3 separate regions of the Homo sapiens genome follow, and all the other regions are linked to region 2. Evidence: promoter capture Hi-C in human tissues and cell types (Jung and others, 2019). All regions are on one chromosome and are shown on one strand. The core of a region is centred on a gene start or on the middle of the fragment in contact, and the rest is flanking DNA. Distances in the headings are between cores, read along the strand shown.

What was found. The method cuts DNA at HindIII sites, captures the fragments that hold promoters and counts their contacts. A contact is called where the count stands out against the background at its distance.
Region 1: a fragment that was not itself captured here is called in contact with the fragment with the promoter of FBXO39 in region 2 in 2 of the 25 tissues and cell types used here (mesenchymal stem cells and spleen).
Region 3: a contact is called between a fragment that was not itself captured here and the fragment with the promoter of FBXO39 in region 2, in 2 of the 25 tissues and cell types used here (H1 embryonic stem cells and dorsolateral prefrontal cortex).

What each region holds. Positions count from the first base shown.
Region 1 is chr17:6,894,893-6,898,499 of GRCh38, forward strand. LOC124903908 (a long non-coding RNA gene) reads right to left here and starts at 54. Exons shown (of 2, transcript XR_007065597.1): 1 at 1-54. It also overlaps the pseudogene ALOX12P2. The HindIII fragment of the contact is 4,243 bases long and covers 1-3,541 here.
Region 2 is chr17:6,774,945-6,778,197 of GRCh38, forward strand. FBXO39 (F-box protein 39) reads left to right here and starts at 1,271. Exons shown (of 4, transcript NM_153230.3): 1 at 1,271-1,328. It overlaps XAF1 (XIAP associated factor 1), which reads left to right. Exons shown (of 7, transcript NM_017523.5): 7 at 1-703. LOC124903905 (a long non-coding RNA gene) reads right to left here and starts at 1,166. Exons shown (of 3, transcript XR_007065594.1): 1 at 1,076-1,166. The HindIII fragment of the contact is 13,622 bases long and covers 1-3,253 here.
Region 3 is chr17:6,848,652-6,851,906 of GRCh38, forward strand. No RefSeq gene overlaps it. Among named protein-coding and RNA genes, the nearest start is that of TEKT1, 19 kb to the left of the region's middle. The HindIII fragment of the contact is 4,954 bases long and covers 1-3,255 here.

The sequences.
Region 1 (3,607 bases), core at 170-2,669, 120 kb after region 2:
CTGGAAAGATGGGTTAATCCTGCCTATAGCAGGGAATAGGCAACCGGACCTTCCTAGGGACGAGCGATTCCTCGAGGATAAGGATTTAGACTTTAATGTCTCCCTAGCAAAAGGGTGAGTACCAGGTAGAGGCTGGGCACTTGCTTCCTAGGGCACAAGGTGGGATGCTTCCTTGATCTTCTTGCACTCCATTCTTTCCACAGGTTGAAGGACTTGGCCATTAAGGGGACACTGGATTTCATAAATTGTGTGAAAAGGCTGGAAGATTTCAAAAAAATATTCCCACATGGAAAGACTGTCCTGGCTGGTCAGTTTTCACAACCTCCCAAAACCAATATACAGACTTCCAACCCAGGGATTTGAAAAAGGAGGGGGATGGAGGATTAGATCAGTGGGATTAGGAGTTCGGAGCTCAGAGCTCACAGGGTGCTCCCCAATTGATGTTCCTAGAGCGGGTTTATGATTCTTGGAAGAATGATGCCTTCTTTGGGTACCAGTTTCTCAATGGTGCAAACCCCATGCTCCTGAGGTGTTCTTCAAGGCTCCCAGCCTGCCTGGTGCTGCCTCCAGGGATGGAAGACTTGAAGACCCAGCTGGAGAAAGAACTCCAGGTGCTGCTGGGCTTTCTGCCCATCCACCATCCCAGCCATTACCCCCACCTCCCTTCTCCTCCCATCTCCAGCCCCTTCTCTCATCTCCTCCATCTACACCCAAGGTTTCTCAACGTTGGCACTATTAACATTCTGCACCACATAATTCTCTGTTGGCTGGCGGGGGGGGGGGGGGGGGGCTTTCCTGTGGATCGTAGGGTGTTTAGTAGCATTCCTGGCCTCTACCCATTGATGCCAGCAGCATCCCCCCGGTTGTGACAACCAAAAATGTGTCTAGATAGTGCTGAATGTCCTGGGGTTGGGGAGAGGAGGAATTGCCCCTGATTGAGAACATTGATCTACAACATCTCCTCCTGTATCTTCTTTTCTTTCTCCACATTCCTCTCTTCCTTCTTCATTGAACATATATCAGCCTTAGGGAAAAGCGCAAGCTTCTGGAGAGAAATAGCAAGAAAAACTAAACAAAGCCTTGGAGAGCTAAAAGCTGAATCTGTTTTTGGGGGGAGATGGGTAGCTAAAGGAAATATTTTTGCTACATTGGCTAAAGCTGGCAGAAGAGGGGATACGTGAAGAATGCAGTGGCCTTATGTGGTGGAAAACCAGAAACTTCGCTGCAGGGAGCTCCAAGTCTGAAGGAAGACATCAGTCATGAAAACTTTGCATTCAGTTTTTTGGTTCTGCAGAAAGTGATTGGTGTTTAAAGTAAAAAAGACTTGGGTGGGTAGAGGAAGGATCCACCCTGGAAAATGAGAGAAGGGCAGCTCCAGAAACAACTCCAACCCTGTTTTCTATTCCTGCCCCTGGCCCTGTAGGCTGGATCTCTGTTTGAAGTGGATTTCTCCTTGCTGGATGGAGTCAAGCCTAATGTCATCATTTTTAAGCAGCAATGCGTGGCAGCCCCTTTGGTCATGCTGAAGCTTCAGCCTGATGGAGGACTCTTACCCATGGTCATCCAGGTGAGAGGGCCCAGGTATTTTTCTACCAGACACTGATCTCCTTTAGGGACTTAGATACACAAGTTCTCAGCCCCCACTCTCTCTCCTGCTCTAGCTCCAGCCACCTTGACACGGATGTCCCCCACCTCTGCTCTTTCTGCCCTCGCATCCCCCCATGGCCTGGCTCCTGGCCAAGACCTGGGTCCGGAGCTCTGATTTCCAGCTGCAGCAGTTACAGTCACATCTGCTGAGGGGACACTTGATTGCTGAGGTTATTGCTGTGGCTACAATGAGAAGCTTGCCTAGCCTCCATCCTATCTACAAGGTACTTCAGCATCTCTGTCATTCTGTATCTGACTGTCCTTCATATTTCAGACTCCTACAAAGAGTCTAACCTTGTACATTTCAGTCTAGCAGCAATCAATTTATATGTGGAGACACATACACAGATACATACACACACGCGTACACATACACAGTAATATGGAAACACCCAGGACACACACTTACTATGAGTTGGGGGGAGAAGTGAGAATAGGTTTTGCAAAGGAGTTGAAATTTTGGCTGAGGAGGTTTCCAGGTGGGCAAGTGAGGGGTGGAACATTACAGCCACAAAGATCTAAAGAGGCGAGGAAAGAAGGGAACATGGATAATGGCTGAGATTGGGTGAGATTAAAGTGTAGGGCATGAGTTGGGATGAGGAGGAAGAAGAAGTGGGAGGAGATGAGAGAAGAAGCCATGTTACTTAGCGGGGAGAAGAATCAAGAGTTATTTTCTGACCATGTGGGGCTTCCAATGCCTATAAAGACCCATTTGCACATGTCAGGAGGGCAACTGGATATGTGAGTCTGGAGTTCCTAGAAGAGGTGTAGGTTGAAAATACAGATTTTAGAGTCATTAGAAAACAAAAGTATCAAAGTCATTGTACTGGATGAAGTTCTCTAGGGTTTGTAGAGAATTTGACCGAGATATAACTCTAGGGTGAACCAACATTTACAGACTGAGAGAAGGGAGCAGAGTGAGAAAAGAAACAAGAGAAGGAACCTCATTGAGGTAGGAGGAAAATCAAAAAGTGCAATCCATGGCAGCCAGGAAAAGAAAGCGTTTCAAGAGGGACGCGTGATTATCTGTCTCAAGTGCTGCTGAGAGATCAAGAAAGTTACAGAGAAGTGACATTTGGATTTCTCAATATGGAAGTCATTGGTTAATAAATGGACATGCGCCATCTCAGGGAAGTGGAGGAAGCCTGATTCATGGGGGTGAGCAGCAAATGTGAGGTGGGTAAGCAAAGACAACACTGAGTGAAGATTTGCTGTGAAAGGGAAAGCAAGAAACAGGGAGATGGCAAGACAAGGATGTGGGGGTCAAGCACAGGTTTTCTTTAGGGTATCCAATATTGCACATGTTTGTATGACAGAGAGAGGAGAAGGAATATAATTATAGGAGGGTGAAGGCAAAAAGGGATGGGCTCATATGTGGGTACCTGCGAGGATATGGGATTTTTAGAATTCTTCCAAGGACATGAAACTGTGGAAATAAGTGAACTCCTAAAACTTTCACCACGGGATGCTCTGAGAAGACATTTTCCCATCTCTATATTCCCAAATGTTACCCTGACCCACTCCAATTTAACGAGAAGTCTCTCCATTTCATAAAGACCCATCCTCTCCCTTCTTTTCTGTCACTTCCTTTAACATCCTCTTCCCTCATGGATGCTGGGAACTCTCTTATTTGACCATGTCCCATTTCTTTCTTCCATAATCAGCTCCTGATCCCCCACTTCCGCTACACCATGGCGATCAACACGCTGGCCCAGAGTAGTCTTGTCTCCGAATGGGGAATTTTTGACCTGGTATGGAAATGGATGGGTGAAGGGGAGGATGGTTCAATATTGGAAGAATCCTAGGGGTTGTTTCCCTTTCCCATTCCTCCCCCAAGCTCTCCTTCCTCCATGGAAGGCCTCTCCCAAACCTGCCTCATGCCTGAAGAGCTTCCTGCTTAAAAGGGCTAGAGTAGGATCATAGGCCTGGAGTTTCCTGATACTCATCTCCCTCCCTCTGC
Region 2 (3,253 bases), core at 21-2,520:
GCGTGAGAATCGCTTGAACCTGGAAGGTGGTGGTTGCAGTGAGCCGAGATCCTGCCACTGCACTCCAGCCTGGGCAACCAAGCGAGACTCTGCCTTAAAAAAAAAAAAAAGAAAATGTGGCACATATACACCATGGAATACTATGCAGCCATAAAAAAGAATGGGATCATGTCCTGTGCAGCAACGTGGATGGAGCTGGAAGCCATTATCCTAAATGAACTCACTCAGAAACAGAAAACCAAATACCACATGTTCTCACTTATAAGTAGAAGCTAAACATTGAGTACACATGGATACAAAGAAGGGAACCGCAGACACTGGGGCCTACCTGAGGTCGGAGCATGGAAGGAGGGTGAGGATCAAAAAACTACCTATCTGGTACTATGCTTTTTATCTGGATGATGAAATAATCTGTACAACAAACCCTGGTGACATGCAATTTACCTATATAGCAAGCCTACACATGTGCCCCTGAACCTAAAAAAAAAGTTAAAAGAAAAACGTTTGGATTATTTTCCCTCTTTCGAACAAAGACATTGGTTTGCCCAAGGACTACAAATAAACCAACGGGAAAAAAGAAAGGTTCCAGTTTTGTCTGAAAATTCTGATTAAGCCTCTGGGCCCTACAGCCTGGAGAACCTGGAGAATCCTACACCCACAGAACCCGGCTTTGTCCCCAAAGAATAAAAACACCTCTCTAAAAGCTGCTCTTCCACCTTTCTTTGGGTTCCGCACTGGTTTTCCAGGGCCAGGAATGGCAGCAGCCAGGACCCCAGGATAAGGGCAGTGCCCAAGGAAAGGGGAGCAGAAGACATTCAGGGAGGGGGAAAGAAATGAGGCTGGGACAGTGGATAAGGGCCAGGTGAAGGGGAGAGGGGCGGCTTCTGAAGGCTTTGGGCAGGGAGAGTGGCTGGGGGAAGCCTAGTAATGCAACCTATCCAGCGGCGGCTTCGGAAAAAACCCGGGGCTGGGTCAGGATGGGAAAGGCAGCGAACTGAACCGTTTTGAGCCCCAAGTTCGGGGCCGAATGTCTTCCCTGTGCGCAGAAGCAAGGGCGGGGGCGTGCCATCCTCACCCGGAGCGCCGGCCGAGCCTCCCGCCTCCCAACGCCTGGCCAGGGCCCCGTCTCGCCCTCTGCACATGGGATCCACTGACCAGGCAACTGCAGGTTTGGGGCTCTGCGACCCGGGGGCAGGAACAGAGCCTTGCAGGCGGCAGCGCGTCACAAAGGCGGCCGGAGCTTGGCATTTAGCTTGGGCCAGAGCAAGGCGCAGACCCGGGGCGCCCATGGAGTTGGCGTCGGAGCAACAGCTGCGCGGGCGGAGCAGGTAGGCGCGCTCCAGTCCCTGCAGCCCGAGCGGGGTTCAGCGAACGGGTAACGGGAGAATGCGGGCCGGAGCAGGCTGGGGTGGCGGTGGGATGCCCCGAGGCCCGCGGCGGGGAGGCGGGCTGCTCTCATCACCCCCTCTGGGAAGCATCTTTGGCTGCAGGAGTTGCCAGGCCAACTCCCCCTCCCGCGGTGGGTAGGACATCTTTAGATTTCCCTCCCTGGTTGGCAGCTGTGTGATATGGTGGACCAACCCTGGGTTCGAATCCTATCTCCCCACTTACTACACGTTCTCCCTGGGAAACTTTATTCACCTTCCAACACCTCCGTTTCCGTATTTGTGAAATGGATGTGTTTGTATTCCTATCTTCCTTGGCGGGACGTTGCAGAAGTACCTCGGCACCAACTTTCTTATTAATGGCAGCCAGCTCTTGTATAGCGTTTACTACGTGGCAGGCACTCACTGTTCCCGGTGCTTTCCAGGTATCAGCTCACTTAATCCTCCCAACACTAAGAGAAAGGCACTATTATTACCCCATATACAGATGTGAGGATTCACACATAAAGAAATTGACTTGCCTAAGGTCATCCGACTGTAATGGGCATAGCTAGGATGCAGCCCACTAAGCTACACTGCCTCTGATGGGGTCTCGGGGGGTAAGGGGAGGCTCCCAGTCATTAAATAGAATTTGGAGTCTCCTTACAGCAACTCTTCCAGACACACATATTCTTCCAACCCCACCCTTACAGCACCAGTGTCTGATGACTTTTCCTGACCTACAACCTTGCTAGGCCAAAAGGTTTCATGGAGCTTTTATTTACTTATTTATTTTATTATACTTTAAGTTCTGGGATACATGTGCAGAACATGCAGGTTTGTTACATAGGTATACATGTGCCATGGTGGTTTGCTGCACCCATCAACCTGTCATCTAGAATTTAAGCCCCGCATGCATTAGGTATTTGTCCTAATGCTCTCCCTCCCCTTGCCCGCCACCCCCCGACAGGCCCCATTGTGTGATGTTCCTCTCCCTGTGTCCATGTGTTCTCATTGTTCAACTCCCACTTATGAGTGAGAACATGCAGTGTTTGATTTCCTGTTCCTGCGTTAGTTTGCTGAGAATGATGGTTTCCAGCTTCATCCATGTCCCTGCAAAGGACATGAACTCATTCTTTTTTATGGCTGCATAGTATTTCATGGTGTATATGTGCCACATTTTCTTAATCCTGTCGATCATTGATGGGCATTTGGGTTGATTCCAAGTCTTTGCTTCGTGGAGCTTTTAAACTGGTTTATCTCTTCTGCAGCACCTTTTAGGAGCTTTGCTTGGTGGTGAGTGCTGTGGAGATCCCTAGCCTTGGGCAGTTTGCAAGTGATTGAAGAGACCTATTTCTTCATTTGTTAAATGTTTAAGTACCTTCTCAAAAGCAGAAGGAGGTTGTCAAGGGGTGTGTGGGTCCCTTGGGAGAGAAAGGCAAGGACACAGATTATACAAAGAGGGGCACTGGCAAGAGGTAGCAGAAGGAGGCAAGCTAAATACGGACACAGCCATGCTGGGAACCACTAGGGCGCCACGTCATGGGCGGGACGGGCTGCTGTTCAGTCCTTTACGGAAGTCTGTTCGGATGTGGCGGTGGGAAGGCCAGCTGGAGACAGGGGCCAAATCAGTGAGTGGGTGGTGAGAGAAAGTGATGGCGTAGTGAGGACAAAGCCTGGAGAAGGTCCCTAGGGAGGCCCACAACTGTGCTTACTTGAGGATGCTCACTGCCACTGTGGTGTTGGTGGGAGCTGGAGGAGACTTGGGGTCCATCAAAGGAAAGAGGATGGGAGACAGGCAGGATACCTGCCATGGGTTCTATTCAGCTGCTAGACGCAATGGGTGAAATGTACACAGAGCCACAGGAATAAGTCCGACAAACAGTAAG
Region 3 (3,255 bases), core at 583-3,082, 74 kb after region 2:
GTCAGGAGGCATGGGGGTCAGGGACCCACTTGAAGAGGCAGTCTGTCCCTTAGCAGAGCTCTAGTGCTGTGCTGGGAGATTCACTGGTCTCTTCAGAGCCGGCAGGCAGGAACATTTAAGTCTGCTAAAGCTGTGCCCACAGCTGCCCCTTCCCCAAGGTGCTCTGTCCCAGGGAGATGGGAGTTTTATCTATAAGCCCCTGACTGGAGCTGCTGCCTTTCTTTCAGTGATGCCCTGCCCAGAGAGGAGGAAACTAGAGAGGCAGTCTGGCTACAGCGGCTTTGTTGCACTGTGGCGGGCTCTGCCCAGTCCAAACTTCCTGGTGGCTTTGTTTACACTGTGAGGGGAAAACCGCCTACTCAAGCCTCAGTAATGGCAGATGCCCCTCCCCATACCAAGCTCGAGCATCTCAGGTTGACTTCAGACTGCTGTGCTGGCAGCAAGAGTTTCAAGCCAGTGGATCTTAGCTTGCTGGTCTCCAGGGGGGTGGGACTCGCTGAGCAAGACCACCTTGGCTCCCTTGCTTCAGCCCCCTTTCCAGGGGAGTGAAAGGTTCTGTCTCACTGGGGTTCCAGGTGCCACTGGGGTACAACAACAACAACAAAAAACTCCTGCAGCTAGCTCAGTGTCTGCCCAAATGGCCACCCACTTTTATGCTTGAAACCCAGGGCCCTTGTGGTGTAGGCACCTGAGAGAATCTCCTGGTCTGCTGGTTGCAAAAACCGTGGGAAAAGCATAGTATCTGGGCTGAATAGTACAGTCCTTCATGGCACAGTCCCTCATGGCTTCCCTTGGCTACGGGAGGGAGTTCCTGACCCCTTGCACTTCCCAGGTGAGACGACGCCCCACCCTGCTTCTGCTCACCCTTCGTGAGCTGCACCCACTGTCTAACCAGTCCCAATGAGATGAACTGGGTACCTCAGTTGGAAATGCAAAAATCACCCATCTTCCTCATAGGTCTCGCTGGGAGCCGCAGACCGGAGCTGTTCCTATTTGGCTATCTTGCCAAGTTCCCCCTCATTTTCTTGAATTACAGCTTTTAGTATTCTTTCTGATCCTTTGCTTTGGTTTTTGTTCATCTTTCCGTTGTGCTTTTGTTTTGTGTAATGATATTATTTTGCCCTTTATTGTCTCTTTTCTTATAGTAACTTTGTATGGGATTTGACTTCACTACTTTTCTACTGCCATTTTTATGTGAATTTTGTTTTCCATGTTAATAAAAAGAAGCTTGTTCAGATAACACATCTAACTTCTTGGATCCCCATCCATTTTTGTTCTTGTAATGTTCAAAAACATGATGGCCTGCTTTTGGAGATTTCCTGGCTTTGTTTCCCCACCCTGTGCTTTTCTGGATCTTTTCTTTCATTTATTTCAGTTGAGTTTTTCCAAGGGTTTCTCTGAAGTGTTCCGCTCCATCCTGGAAGACAGCCTTGGCTGACCAGTTTCAGGAGTTCCCGTAGGTCCTTAGATCTTATCAACTGTGCCTGGCACCTACTTGCTATTACAGTGGTGATAGGCTTTGGATCTGTGTCCCCTCTAAATATCATATCAAACTATAATCCCTATTGTTGGAGGTAGGGCCTGGTGGGAGGTGACTGGATTGTCGAGGAGATTTCTCATGAATGGTTTATCACCATCTCCTTGGTGCTGTTCTCGCGCTAGTGGGTGACTTCTCCTGACATCTGGTCGTTTAAAAGTATGCGACACTGTTTTAGTCTGTTCTTGCATTGCTATAAAGAAATACCTGAGACTGGGTAATTTATAAAGAAAAAATATTTAATTGGCTCATGGTTCCACAGGCTGAACAGGAAGTATGATGCTGGCATCTACTTGGCTTCTGGGAGGCCTCAGGAAACAAAATCATGATGGAAGGTGGAGGGAGAGCCACATGGCTGGAGCCAGAGGAAGAGAGAGAGAGGGGAGAGGTGCCACACACTTTAAAGCAACCAGATCTCATGAGAACTCTATCATAAGAACAGTACCAACGGATAGTGCTAAACCATTCACGAAGGATCCACCCGCATGAGCCAATCACCTCCAACCAGGTCCCATTTCTGACATTTGAAAATTACAACTTGACACAAGATTTAGGTGGGGACACAGATCCGAACCATATCAGGCACCTTCTCCCCCTCTTCCTTGCTCCTGCCTTCAGGATATGATGTGCCTGCTCCCCCTTTGCCTTTTTCCATGATTGGAAGCTTCCTGAGGCCTTCCCAGAGGCAGAAGCCACTATGTTTCCTGTACAGCCGGTAGAACCATGAGCCAATTAAACCTCTTTTCTTGTAAATGAGCCAGTCTCAGGTATTTCTTTACAGCAGTGCGAGAATGGCCTAAAACAAATGGGCATGTTCCCTCCTAGTTCCAGCTGTTGTTCCCAAATTGGCCTACTACAATTTTACCATTTTCAGGTTTGTCATATGTCCTGTTGTTTTCTTCCAAGTTCTCTTGCACAGGTGAGATGTGGATAACACATAGGTCTTATGGCTGTTGGTGGTTTGTCCTGTTTTGGAGTTTGCAGGGATTACTTGTCTAGCTTTTTGTAAATGTGATTCATGAGTATTTGATTTTGCTATCTAGTTCTGTCTGTTTTTATGTGGATATCCAGGAAGATCCAAATTCTATGCTGCCTCCACTGAAACTGTCTTCCCAGAAATGTATTACTTTTTGTCATTAAAAAGGAGGTATAGGAAGATTAATCTATGCACTGCATTTGGAAAGGTGTTTGTTTGTTTGTTGTTTATTTTTAGGTTGCAGTGATGGCAGGGAGCCAATGTTGATTTCTGATATGGGAGGATGATGATCAGAGCTGGTCATCTGAAAGATTAACTTGGCAGAAGTTTGAAGATTGAAGAAAAGTAGTGGAGTGAGAAGGCCAATTCTGACAGTACATCAGCAGTCCAAATAGGAGATGATAATGAGGGAAAGGTGAGTGGGAAGGGCAAGGAAAAGACAGCTGTGGGGAATTCAATAAACGCTGAATCAGTGGCTTGGTGGTGAGGGAAGGATGAAGAAGAGTTAGAAGAATCAGAATTGACTGAAAATTTGTAGGATGAATGTCTAGGGGAATAATATTACCCAAAACACCAGTGTAGATGAGGAAAATGATATGGTGACAGTAATAATGAGGGGTCAGAGGGAGAGCAGTGACTAATTTTTTTTTTTTAATTTGCATTTCACTAGCTGGAGGTACCTCAAGAAAAAGATGTTGTGTGTGAATGTGCAGGGCTGAGGGAAAGGTCCATGCTAGACACA